Regions from separate parts of the Homo sapiens genome. Here regions 1 and 2 are each linked to region 3. The links are contacts of gene promoters, found by promoter capture Hi-C in human tissues and cell types (Jung and others, 2019). All regions are on one chromosome and are shown on one strand. Each heading gives the region's core, a stretch centred on a gene start or on the middle of the fragment in contact. The rest is flanking DNA. Distances are from core to core; before and after follow the strand shown. Region 1 overlaps CARD8 (caspase recruitment domain family member 8). Region 2 overlaps CARD8 (caspase recruitment domain family member 8). Region 3 holds the start of KCNJ14 (potassium inwardly rectifying channel subfamily J member 14).

The links. Contacts are between HindIII fragments. The study calls those that stand out against the background at their distance.
Region 1: a fragment that was not itself captured here is called in contact with the fragment with the promoter of KCNJ14 in region 3 in 1 of the 25 tissues and cell types used here (lymphoblastoid cells).
Region 2: a contact is called between a fragment that was not itself captured here and the fragment with the promoter of KCNJ14 in region 3, in 1 of the 25 tissues and cell types used here (IMR-90 fibroblasts).

Annotation. Positions count from the first base shown.
Region 1 is chr19:48,248,671-48,253,092 of GRCh38, forward strand. It overlaps CARD8 (caspase recruitment domain family member 8), which reads right to left. Exons shown (of 14, transcript NM_001184900.3): 2 at 1,081-1,177; 3 at 853-963. It also overlaps the pseudogene VN1R97P. Among named protein-coding and RNA genes, the nearest start is that of CARD8-AS1, 4.8 kb to the right of the region's middle. The HindIII fragment of the contact is 5,403 bases long and covers 1-4,100 here.
Region 2 is chr19:48,231,911-48,236,233 of GRCh38, forward strand. CARD8 (caspase recruitment domain family member 8) reads right to left here. Exons shown (of 14, transcript NM_001184900.3): 6 at 2,493-2,633; 7 at 543-583. Among named protein-coding and RNA genes, the nearest start is that of CARD8-AS1, 22 kb to the right of the region's middle. The HindIII fragment of the contact is 6,565 bases long and covers 1-4,323 here.
Region 3 is chr19:48,454,131-48,458,422 of GRCh38, forward strand. KCNJ14 (potassium inwardly rectifying channel subfamily J member 14) reads left to right here and starts at 1,444. Exons shown (of 3, transcript NM_013348.4): 1 at 1,444-1,728. It overlaps GRWD1 (glutamate rich WD repeat containing 1), which reads left to right. Exons shown (of 7, transcript NM_031485.4): 7 at 1-2,892. The HindIII fragment of the contact is 6,064 bases long and covers 1,207-4,292 here.

The sequences.
Region 1 (4,422 bases), core at 149-2,648, 210 kb before region 3:
AACTGGCTGTATCTAGACTTCAAGACACACCTACCCTTGAAATTATGTGTGGACAAGAAAATGCATATAAAAAGTCCATTGTATTATGGTTTGCTATCAGAAAACAGGGTAACAAACTGAATGTCCATCATCAAAGAATGGATACATTGATTATAATATCATCATTGCATTAATACTGTAGCGCAGTTAACATAAATTATTAAAACCACATGTAAACATGGATAAATATTTAAAATGTACTATTGGGCCGGGCACGGTGGCTCACGCCTGTAATCCCAACACTTTGGGAGGCCGAGGCGGGCGGATCACCTGAGATCAGGAGTTCGAAGCCAGACTGGCAACATAGTGAAACTCCGTCTCTACTAAAAATACAAAAATTAGTCGTGCGTGGTGGCGGGCGCCTGTCACCCCAGCTACTCGGGAGGCTGAGGCAGAAGAATCGCTTGAACCCGAGAGGTGGAGGTTGCAGTGAGCCGAGATCACACCACTGGACTCCAGCCTGGATGACAGAACGAGACTCCGTCTCAAAAAAAAAAAAAAGTAATATTGATTAAAAATCAAATTGCATGAGACTGCACAGCACGATACCAAGCAAATACAAGTTTTAAATATTACAGAAAATAATATTTAAAATACAAACCAAATACATAAATCATGCAGGGGGATTAAGACGTTTCTGGATAGTGGCAACAGCCGAGAGTGGCTGGATGAATTTCAGAGAAATTTCATATATTGCTTCAATTTTATTTAAAATATATTATTACCTATGTTTTAGATATTTTATTGTAAATAATGGGCAAGGATATTATAAACTCTGCAGAAGTAAGTGTAGTCGTGTTTTTTCCTACTCACATTGAAGATGGCCCAGATGCTTGCACTAACCGCGTTTACCGCCCACAGCCATCATGGCGACCGGAAGTCCTGAGAGCTTGTTTCCCTCGAATCTCAGACAGCCCTCCTTCTCTATGAACATTATTTCAAAAGAAGTTGAGAACTAGAGAAACCGAAGCTTAAGGGGATTCTCCCATTTGGCCTGTCCTCCCCTAAAGTCACCACCTGCTGCGTTTCTGCAGCGCTTACCATGTGAGTTTCAGGAGCCCCAGGGTGCAGGAAGGAGGAGCGGAGGCTTGTTGCTTGGACACTGCCAGGCTGCTCTGTGTTCTGTTCCTCTTGGTCACTTGAGAAGAAAGGGAGAAGTTCCTATGAGGCTGTCGGAAAGGGAAATGGGGCCCTCCGCTTGTTGAAAACAAAACAAAACCCTCAGGAAGCTTTGCATCCTGTTAGTCATAGCTTAAATTTATGACTTCAATGACTTGGCTGGGACAGTCTTAATCTCTCCATACTCAAGTTGTTTTAATTTCTGTAATAATAATTTTTATACCAATGTTTGTGTTGTTAATACTAATAATTTTACATTGTAACTGTAATCCTTTAATTATTACAAGTGTTAACCTAAATAACAAACATATGAAAGCTTCCTAAAGGAAACAGTGTTTATTTGGGAATAGAGCATTGCAATTGGGAATAGATATGCCATATTAAACTATGTATATATTCAGGAAGATAAAGGAAGACAGAAATGGGGAGGATTGCATATTGTTTTGACAGGATTTTCCTTGGCCACAGGATCAGGCACAAAGGTGACATTAGTCTGAGGTTGGACAGGCAGTTGCTGGGCAGCATTCCTTGCAGAAATATTTTTTGTTTAAGGTTGCAATGACCTTTATGCAAGGTTGTGGGTTTTGTAGAGTCTTTTTCATTTTCAAGCATACAAGGATAAGACCCCCCCTCTTCATGGCTTTCCTGGCTTTATTTGTCAGGGTCATCTTAACATTAGTGGCTCCATTTTGTTCTGACAACTTTCAGATTTCTCCTTGTGATCAAGAACTTTCTCTAAAAGCATTATTGATCAATCATTCTGTAATTAAGATTTGATGTCCCCTGATGCCAGCATGGACCTCTCCCAGTTTGCTGGTCTCATCCCATGTTGTGGGGAGTGACTGGTGACTAGGAATCGATGTCAAAAGCACATTTGAGCAACAAAAGAGATTTGAAGGATGTGGCTCTCAGGCTAAGTCTCCCTGGAGTCCATTAGTAAGTTCAATTTTGTCTGTTCTACAGTCTTTTGCTATCCCTTTAAAGTGCTGATTCAGTATTATTTTGTTAGGAGCTGCACCTCTGAAAAAATTTAACAAGTAACACATACAAAGTTTAAAAAGGAGAAATACAAAGTAAGGGGAAATACAAATTAAGAGCAATATGAGATTTTCAGTTTGCATATGGTTTTGAGCCATAAACCTAGGTTTAAAGACAACTAATTGAAGAACTCAAACAGTTATTCGAGACAGCAGGGAGTTAGGTGAGACCTGGGGTAACCACATGGCCTGCTTTCTTATTTTGTGTATAGGAGCCTCAACTTTTCTCAGAGGAATTTATTCAGGTATAGCATGTCGTATTAGCAACATCACAGACAATTTCTTGCTTAACCAATGGATACTAAAGAATTTTGTAGGTTGGGTTCTGTTAAGTTATAAGCAGAAGGAATTGATCATAAAATTTAAGTTACACCATTATTCTGCTAAGTAGAAAAGGTCGAATTAAGTGAGATGAAAGTCTCATTATGATATAGAGTCTTGTTTCAGCATCTTGCAGAAAGTTATACAGTGTGAAAACACCAACTTTTTCTCCTGGTTTGTAGTGTGAACGTCTCTGGTTATGATATTGGGCAGTTTGGTAAACTATTGTGTGATCCGCATATCAGCCTTGAGGTTTGTTCCCTCTTTCATTTTCCTCTGGATCACCAACATGCTAATCTACGTTCACATCACTGAAACCGTAGAGGCCAATACCAATTTCACCATTTCTGGTCCTGGATATTTGCAAGACTGTTGTCAAACTAGGCCATACATACAATAATTTAATATACATTTGGGGCTTGGATTATATTTCTGTTAAATTGCACTGCTCTATGGGACTTATTTTATTCATTCCACAAATATATTTTGCACATGTTCCTTATTCTTGGTACTATTTAATGGATTTGGCATACATCCGTGATCTAAACAGATAAAACTCCCCCAAGGATCATTTATAAATGTCATGGTGATTCGCCATGTCCTGTTTGTGTTCCTCATGGTCTGGACCAGCATCAACATGGCCAGTCTCCTCTGCAGACACCGGCGGAGAGCCCAGCGTCTGCACAGCCCTAGCCTCTCTTCCCAGCCATCTCCTGAACACAGAGCCACCCATACCATCCTCCTGCTGCTTGGTTGCTTTGTGTGCTTTTATTGCTCAAACAACTTCATCACTCTTTATTTCTTTTATAAATCTGAGAAAAAATCAAGACTAGAGATGATCACTGGAATTATTTCATCATGCTACCCAACCATCTGCCCTTTTGTGCTAATAAAAAATAATAAAATTATTTCCTAATTTACCTCTTCCTCTCTAAGACAAGAATGATCAGCTCTCAGGGAGCATTCAATGGCTGATCTCAAACCCCATACTTTCTTCTGCAGCTGGGAAGTCTCCATGATGACTTTTGTGGAGAAAAAGTCATGCAGTTATTGAGCAATTGAATTAGGGCTAGTTTGAATTGAGGTGTATCATAAATTTAAAAAGCATTCAGGTTTTGAAGTCAATATAAATAACAGTATATAAATATTATCTTAATAACTTTCACATTGCTGACAAGTTTAAATTATGACATTTTGGGTAAAACGTATGTATATGTTTTGTTATGTTTACATATATATGCATATTTAAATAAAATACATATACACAAATATGTAAGTAAAACATATGTAAGAATATATATAATATATATAATTTTTTTTTTTTGAGACAGAGTCTTGCTCTGTCACCCAGGCTGGAGTATGCAGTGGTGTGATCTCAGCTCACTGCGGCCCCCACCTCCTGGATTCAAGCAATCCTCCCACTTCAGCCTTCCGAGTAGCTAGGATTATAGGTGTGCACCACCATGCCTGGCTAATTTTTTTGTATTTTTTAGTAGAGACAGAGTTTCCCCACGTTGGCCAGGCTGGTCTAGAACTCCTGACCTCAAGTGAACCGCCTGTGTCAGCCTCCAAAAGTGCTAGGATTGTAGGTGTGAGCCACCGCACTGGCCTTATCAGTATATACACACACACACACACACACACACACACATATGTGTATACATATACAACTACATAGGTATTTTTAAACTAACTGTATCTGCTTGTTTTTGCTTTTTTAAATGCAGTTGCTAGAAAATTTAATATACATTTGGGGCTTGGATTATATTTCTGTTAAACTGCACTGCTCTATGGCACTTCTTGTATTCATTCCACAAATACATTTTGCACATGTTCCTTATTCTTGGTACTATTTAATGGGTTGGACATACATCCATGATCTAAACAGATAAAACATAATAGCACA
Region 2 (4,323 bases), core at 1-2,500, 220 kb before region 3:
GATATCGAATGAGAGCTGAGAGTGACCAGAATATGCAGTTTCGCTTCTTTGAATCCAGACAAAGAAAGGCACAAGAATGTTCCTTGTCATGACTAAACGTATACACCAAATTCCATAAGACTTTCTGGGAAGCCAGGCTGGACAGCTTTGGTGGGAGGCACCATTTGCTGAGGACTGGAACCAATGCACCTACATTTCTACTGGTCCGAAATAGCAGAAGACACTTTCTGCTGGTGAGGAAAGTCCAGGTCAGAAAAGTATCGAACTCCAAAGATGCAGAGGCGAAAGAGCGTGCATCCTTCCTAGGCCCTGCTGCTGTCCCCAGCCACCAGGACCACCCACTGACTCCCCTGAGCATTTCCATGCCCCAGCAGTGACAGGCTTACATGTCCCCATTTAAACTGCACAGTGCACTGTGGCAAAGGTAAGGGAAAGCACTCCTGATCTGCACAAAAGACTCTAAATTGTCTTCTTCACATAAAATCACAGAACATTTCCATCAATCCACACGCCCTTCACTCCTCTCCCTATTAGCCCATTACCTGAATCTTGTCCCTCTGAAGATTCCTGCTCTTCTGATACACTGGAGGTTGGGATCCCCATGTTACAAAAAGATGAAAAACATCAAGAATCAGTTGATGAAGATGAAGACGATGTTATTGAAAACTAGAGCTGCACTGTCCCGTAGAGTAGCCGCTACCCGGATATGCTATTTAAATTTGTATGAATTAAACTTAGGTAAACTTTAGTTTCTCAGTTGCACTATCCATATTTCAAGTGCTCAACAGCTACATATCACTCACGGCTATAACACTGTGTAGCAGAGAATGGAACACTCCCGTCATCACAGAAAGTTCTCTTAGACTGGGCGGATCTAGACTATCAAGAAATAGAAGACATTTTGAATGAAGATATTTTTATCCACATTTATAAATAATAGAGATAACACACTCCCTTGAGCCAAATGTGTCTTGACATCTCTCCTTCTTCTCTTTGTATTATGCCCACGTTCAATGTGGACACAGCCAGATTCTCTGGCTTAAATTGATTGCTCCGATTGGTATCATACGATGTCGGAATCAAAGACTGAAGCAGTAATTCACCAATGCGTAAAATGTATGCATTTATATTCCAAGGTAATTCCAAACTTGACCACACCTGGGAAGCTTTAAAAACCACCCAATACCAGGTCACAGCCCACATCAATTGAATCAGAAGTCTGGAGGTGGCACCAAAGCATCGGCGCTTTCAAAGCCTCACAGGTGATTCCAATATTAGCCAATATGGGTTCTATGACATACAGCGTGAGCCAATGGTTCGTCATGCCTCTGGAGAGAAACCTGCCCTAACACAGGTGATACCTTCTGGAGCAAGGCAACCAACTCCATCAAATTCTCTGCCTTTGATCCATTCCTTGAGATATCTGTTTATTTCGACGTGAAAGAGACCAGCAGAGAAACTGACACGTGGATTAGGTTTAAAAAGAACAGGTACCTAGAGAAGTGGGATGAAGAGAAAGGCTTTACAGCGCTTTTCTCGGAAGGATTCTGTGGGCAAGCCAAGCATGGAGAGACCCCTGGGCTGACATCCTAAGACTGGTTGCTGTCTGCGGCTACACATTTTGCTATGGATTCGGGTAGCTACAGGCAAAGCAGCAAGAGTAAACATGCCATTTTATATTCTCTTTCCTGGTGCATGTGCATGCTGGAGTCTGCCTGCTGAGGAGGGGTTTAGAAAGTGGGAGGAACCCAGCGCTGAACTGCAGACAGCGCATCCCAGATCATGAGAGCTGACGGTTCCATTTTCAGGGCTTTTGCAACCAAGTTGTTCAACACAACCATTAGTCTAAATTAAATGATACAAGCTAACATTTAAATAAATCATATTAAAAACAAAAGTAATACATATTAAAACATACCAATTTCCAGTCATTTTTCTACACTTTTCAGCAGTCTATGCCCTTGAGGTTATTTATGTCTCTTGTATCTGTGTGGTGAAAGCAGGATGACAGACTTCTGCATGTGTTCTTTCAACTCCCTCATCAGGGGCTTCACGTTGGTAGTTTGAAATCTGCCATGATGGGGATATTCAACCCTTGGAAATTGGCATACCCTACAAATAGACGCATTCTCCCCTCCCCGGTGTTAAACCTCAGGACCCCACTGTGGCCTTCAGCCTCATCATCAGCCAGTTTCCTAGAGAATTAGGTTGGTTTTATGTATTGAGTAACAGCTTAACCAATAACCCACTGGTCTTCGATTGCATTGCTCATTGCCTTTTTGTGTATAGGTTCTCTAGACACCTCCATGGAAGAAAACCTCATTGCTTAAGGTTTGTTTCAAAAATTTCTGGATTCATTGCTAGTATTGCATAAGCTCATTCATTCTCCCCTGAGTTCGATGAAAAACACCCAAATTCCTCTAATTCTCATGTTCCTCTGTGATATTGAGACACAGCGTCCAATAGTTTTCCAACGGAATAGCTTTTCTTACCTGGGAATGTCCCCCCCAGATAGTTGACACTCAGGAACAGCACGGAACAATAATGGCTCTGCCTCTGTCTCATCATCTTCTTGGAAAAAATGTGAGATGTCACAAAGGGTCTCAGAAACACAGGGTAGCTCCCTGTATACCCTGGAAAACAACAACAGAATTTTTACTATGAATATAAGGTAGGTGCCTGATGATAGCATAGGCTGTGCAGGAAGATTTTATGTTAATAGCCATAGACTCAATATTTTATCTTAGGGAAGTCATTCCTCAGGCCCCTACGACTCCATCTCACCTCTCAGACTCCCATGACTCTTTCTTACATCTCATTATGTTAAATTTAACTGGCTCTCTGTTTCCCACTATATGCTGCTCTTTCCATCCTAGGAAGCAGACGTCAGTCAGTTCTCAACATCTAGCATTTGCCACAAACATTGGTTTCATAATAGGTCAACAAGTATGTTGACCTATATAACCTTGCTAAGAATTTTAGGGAAAGGATGAGATTCCTAATTTGTAGTCTCCCTTCATCCATAATTGGTGCCCGAGAGAATAGGACCCTAAAATGATTGGGATTGCAGGGCATTAGTGAGATTGGGCATGTTTTATAAGAACCCATGGAACAGTTATCTCCTCTTCTCCCTTCTGCCTGCAAATGGTGAGAGGGGTTGCATAAAGCAACAAAAATGCTCACAGAAAAAGAAAATTATGGATATTGTACACACTTTCTTTTCCCATCAAGGATCCTTATTCAGATATGGAACATGAGAGTCCTATGCTAGATCCTTTTCTCTTCTTCATTTTTGAAGGCTTGGTGCTGTCCTCCTATGGCTGGCAGGAATCAAGATTGAGGTTAGGAGTGATGGAGTGTCCTTTATGCCAAGATATTCAATGGCCAATATGACAGCCACTAGCCACACCTGCCTATTTACATTTAGTTTTAAATTGTTAAATGTGAAAATCAGTTCCTCCTTTGAAGTAGCCATATTTCAAGTGCTCAAAAGCCACACGTGGCTCTTGCCTGCCACCATGTAAGACATGCCTTTGCTCCTCCTTTGACTTCTGCCATGATGGTGAGGCCTCCCCAGCCACGTGAAACTAAAAGAATTTTTCTGGGTAATGGACATAGGCATAGGACGTCTGGCAACAAAATCTGCTTTGAAGAGGACTCCAGGGAATAGAGATGAGGTCTCAGGCTGGTCTTGAATTCCCGGCCCCAAGAAATCCTTCCACCTTGGCATCCCAAAGCACTGGGATTACAGTCATGAGCCACCGCACCCAGCCTGAGCATTACTGTTTGATAGATATTCCCAAATCACTCTCCACAAAAGGTTACAACAGTGAACACTTCCATCAGCTGAATATCTGTGAAAGCAATTGTTGAGAGATTTTGAAGTAAGTTCAAAACCAAACTGTAGAAAAAAATCATTGACAAAAAAGGAAAGCAAAAAAAAAGAAAGAAAATAACTGAGGAATTATTACTGAAGACAACTTTTGTCTAAAAAAAAAAAAGAACATTTGTTTGCAATGTAAAATCGGGTTTCAGCTGGAAAATTAAGCCTGTTAAAAACATCAACAACAAGAGCAAAAATCCTGAATATTTTTTCAGCAATTCTGATTAAAGTATGTATGTTAAAAAAAGAAAAAGCCATGTGAGGCCAGTGGCTTTCACACTGGACACCACAGACAGGGAACATTTCCATCCTGGGTGAGAACTCTATTGGACAGCATTGACTTTAGAACCTCTGCTGTAGTCCAGTTGACCAGAGGGTCCTGCCTTGGGCTATCTGCCATTGGTTTCATTTCTATTTTTATTTTTATTTTTTAAATTGAG
Region 3 (4,292 bases), core at 194-2,693:
CTCATCCCTGACCCCCACCAGCTTATGAAGGCTTCATCTCAGGGAACTCTGGACCCCCCATTTCTCCCTCCGTCCATCTCCCCTTTATCACGTTTCTTTCTTTCTTCTCTGTGTCCCCCTCTTTCAGAGTCTCCCGTCCCCCACTGCCAGTCTCCCTGCCCCCTAGTCGCTGTCTCGCTCCTCCGCCGCTGTCTCCTGTCCAGCCTGCCTGGGCTGTGGCCCAGCCGCTCTGCCTGGCTGGCCTCCCTGGCTCCCCCTCTGCGGCTCTGAGCTAGCCCCACCCCCGGCCCCCCTCCATCCAGCCTCTGATCCATCTGTGGACTCCGAGGTCGGGTGCCCGTCACACGGCCCCTGGGACCAAGGACAGACTACAGCCCCTCAGCACCCACAGAGGCTTCCCCTCAGCCCTAGCCGAGGAGCCCCCAGCGGAGGGCATGGGGGTGGGCCGCCCCAACAGGTACGTGCCTCCATGCAAGGCACCGCTGAGCCATCCCCTCCTGCTCTGCTGCGTCGCCCCCATCCACCCCTGCCCCAGCATCCCTGTCCTCAGCTTGTCCCCTTCAAGAAGGCCTTGTCTTCCCATCAGTGACAGGCTCAGCGCCAGGAGAATCCACCCCCAGGTTCAGTGCCTCCAACTCTCACCCCATCCCCATTTTATGCATTTTCTCACTGGCTTCCATCCTTTCAGAGAAACCCTCTCAGTCTGTCTGTCTCTGTCTCTGTCTCTCTCCCCCATCTCTGTCTCTCCCATCTCTCTCTGCCTCTCTCTGTCTTCACAATTTCATCTCCCCATGTCGCCATTTCTTAAAACATTTCTTTTCTCCTTTTCGTTTTCCCAATTGCCCTGTCCGCCTCTATCTTCTCTGTCCCCCTCCATCTAGGTCTCTGTCCCCCCCTCTCTCTGGGTCTCTGTCCCCCTCTGTCTCTGAGTCTCTATCCTCTCAAGGTCTCTGTTCCCCTCTCTCTGGGTCTCTGTCCTCTCTCAAGGTCTCTGTCCCTTTCTCTCTGGATCAATGTCCCTTTCCTGCTGCCCTCTCTGGGTCTCTGTCCCCCTCTCTCTCAGGGTCCCTGTCCTGCTTGGTCCCTGTACTTTTTCTTGGGGCACCCTCTCAACACCCCTCCTCCTGCCTATCTCTGCATCTCTTTGTCTTTCTGTAGTCTCTGCTTTCCAACCTGCTGTCCAGCCCCCACCAGTAGGTGGGGAGTGGTGGGGAACACCCCTGGTTTCGGAAGAGTGAGAGTGTTGATTTGGGAGGGTGAGGGTGGGGCCTGGGGGCGGGGCTTCTTGGCCTCAGATTAGACAGTGACTTTGACACGAAGTTGAAGCACCTTAAGCCCTGTATCTCCTTTATATGGAAACATTAAGCTGCTCTCGCAGGTCAGGTGGAGGATCCCTTTCCCTCCCGCCCTGCTTTTGCTAGGGGAGGGGGGTGCCCTGAGCCTGAGTCGCAGCCAGCCTGGGAGCTGGGCCATGTTGGCCGCAGATGGCCCCCTGGTGAAGGTTCCCGTTGGCTTTGGGAAGTAGACAACGGGTCTGCCTCACGGGGCTGAGGTGGGACTGGAGGATTTCGAGGGCAGAACTCTGGGAAGGAAAGAAAGGCTTAGGACCCAACCAGCATTCCCCCTGGCACTGCGGGGGCCTGGCCAGCTCATGGCGTTCCCTGAGCCTGTTCCCCAACTGTGAAAGGGGGTGATGATCTTCACCTCCCGGCATCCTGAGCGGCCAAGGTGAGCAGTGGGGTCTGAGAGTCCAGTGGGGGCTGTGGGCATGTCGGGAGCTCATCACGAGGCCTCGTACATACCAGGTGTGTTTGAAACCAGAGTGCTCTTGAGAAGACTGTGGTTTGTCACTCGGGCCGTGGCTCCCAGGAGGCCTGGGTGGGAGGCTAGCTTTTGCCACTCCTCTCCCCACTGGCTGAGAGACCTGCGACAAGGGACTAACCTCAGCCCCAGTTGGCTTTTCTGTGAAAAGCCAGGTCCCTTCATCAAAGGGCTTTGGTGAGAGATGGGCAAGTGGGGGTGAGAGGCCCAGGCTGGGGCCTGGGGAGCACAGGTCAGTGTCAGTGCCCACCTGCCCCCCCAGCCCACGGGGGTGGTTCCTGAGGGTGGAGTCAGTGCTGAGTGGGGATCCCCAGGCTGGGGAGGGCTGCAGGTGTAGATGCTGCATCCTGATGTTGACCTCCAGGCCGCCCCCTTGGGCAACGAGCCTATTTCCCCTTTTTGGGAGAACAGTCTCTAACATGCAGGGTTGTCAGGGGTGAGATAGAGTCAAGGTTGGGGTACACTGTGGGCACTGGACACAGCCAGGCTGGTCCCCTCACCTCAGCCTTGCCTCTGTCAAGTGGGCCTAATGAACCCTCGCGAATGGCCAGGCTGCCTGCGTGGTTGTGGGAAGCAGGTGCAGGGCTTTGGGAGACCCAGTTGGTGCCAAACTTGACATTGTCTCATGGTCTTCTTTCCAAATGGAGTGTGCCAGGCCCTGCCAAGAAGCCCCTGAGGATCCCCAGGTTCCAGCACAAATTATTTAACCCCTGGAATGGTTTGTCCTGATCCAGCCAGTTCCTGGGAAGTTCCCCACCACAGGGCCAAGCGTTTGGTAACGTTGCAGTGAACCCTGAAGGCAATGAGGGGTGCGGGTCCATGCCCAGCCCTTTCCTTTGGTCCACCCTGACAGGCTGCTGCGATTCCCTCCATTTCTTTTCTTCCTTTATTTTTTATTTTTAATTATTTATTTATTTTTTAGAGACAGGGTTTTGCTGTCTTCCCCAGGCTGGTTCTCAAACCCCTGGCCTCACGCATTCCTCCTGAGTTGGACTCCCAAAGTGCTAGGATTACAGGTGTGAGCCACCGCACCTGCCCTCTTTTTTTTTTTTTTTTCTTTAAGAGATAGGGTCTTGCTCTGTTGCCCAGGCTGCAGTGCAGTGGTAGAGCATCATAGCTCACTGCAGCCTTGAACTCTGGGCTCAAGTGATCCCCCACCTCAGTCTCCACAGTAGCTGCATCACCATGGCTGGATACTTTTTGTTTTTAAGATAGGGTCTCGCCATGTTCCCTAAGCTGGTTTCAGACTCCCGGGTTCCAACAGTCCTCCCACCTTGGCCTCCCAGAGTGCTGGGATTACAGGTGTGAGCCACCATGCCCAGCCCCCAGGCCTCCTGCCTTTCACAGATGAGAGCTGAGGCTCAGGAAAGGATTTGACCTGTCATCCATCACACACCTAGTAAATGGTTGAGCAAACTGAGTCTCTGGAAAAAGAAGCCAGAGATCCCAGGGGACATGGTGGGTGAGCAACTAAGCCAGGACTGGGCCCTCATCCATATGGTAAGAAGGCCCTTCCTGGTCTTTTAAGAAGTCCCAATTTCCCCACCTTACAATGGAGGAAACCGAGACTCAGAAAGAGTTGCCAAAGATCAGAGGGTCGGGCATGAGGCCCATTTCATTTATTTTACAATAGCTTCATTGAAATCTAATTCACATATCATATCATACACTCACTACAGGGTACAATTCAATGGCTTTTAGTGTATTCACAATTGTGCAGCCATCACAATTAATTTTTTTTTTTTAAATGGAGTCTTGCTTTGTCGCCCAAGCTCGAGTGCACTCGTGCACTCTCAGCTCACTGCAACCTCCACCTCCCGGGTTCAAGTGATTCTCCCACCTCAGCCTCCCGAGTAGCTGGGATTACAGGTGCGCGCCTGTAATCACCATACCCGGCTAATTTTTGTTATTTTTAGTGGAGACGGGGTTTCACCATGTTGGCCAAGCTGGTCTCGAACTCCTGACCTCAAATGATCTGCCTACCTTGGCCTCCCAAAGTCCTGGGATTACAGGTGCGAGCCACCGCACCTGGCCAGCATAATGTTTTCAAGGTTTATCCATGTTGTTGCATCTATCGATACTTCATTTCTCTTTATTGTCAAATACTATTCATTGGATGAATATACCACATTTTATTTATTCATTAGTTGGTTGATACTTGGGTTTCCACCTTTTGGCTATTATGAGTAATGCTGCTGTGAACATTTGTGTACCAGTTTTTGCATCTGTTTTCATTTCTCTTGGGTACATAAGTAGGAGTGCAATTGCTGGGTGATGTGGTAATTCTATGTTTAACCATTTAAGTAACTGCCAGACTGCTTCCTACAGCAGCTGCAATTTTTCATTCCCCACAGCAGTGTATGAGGATGCCAATTTCTCCACATTCTCGCCAACACTTGTTTTTTTTATTATAGCCATTCTAAGTGGGTGCAAAATGGTATTCCTTTGTGCTTTTGATTTGCATTTCTCTG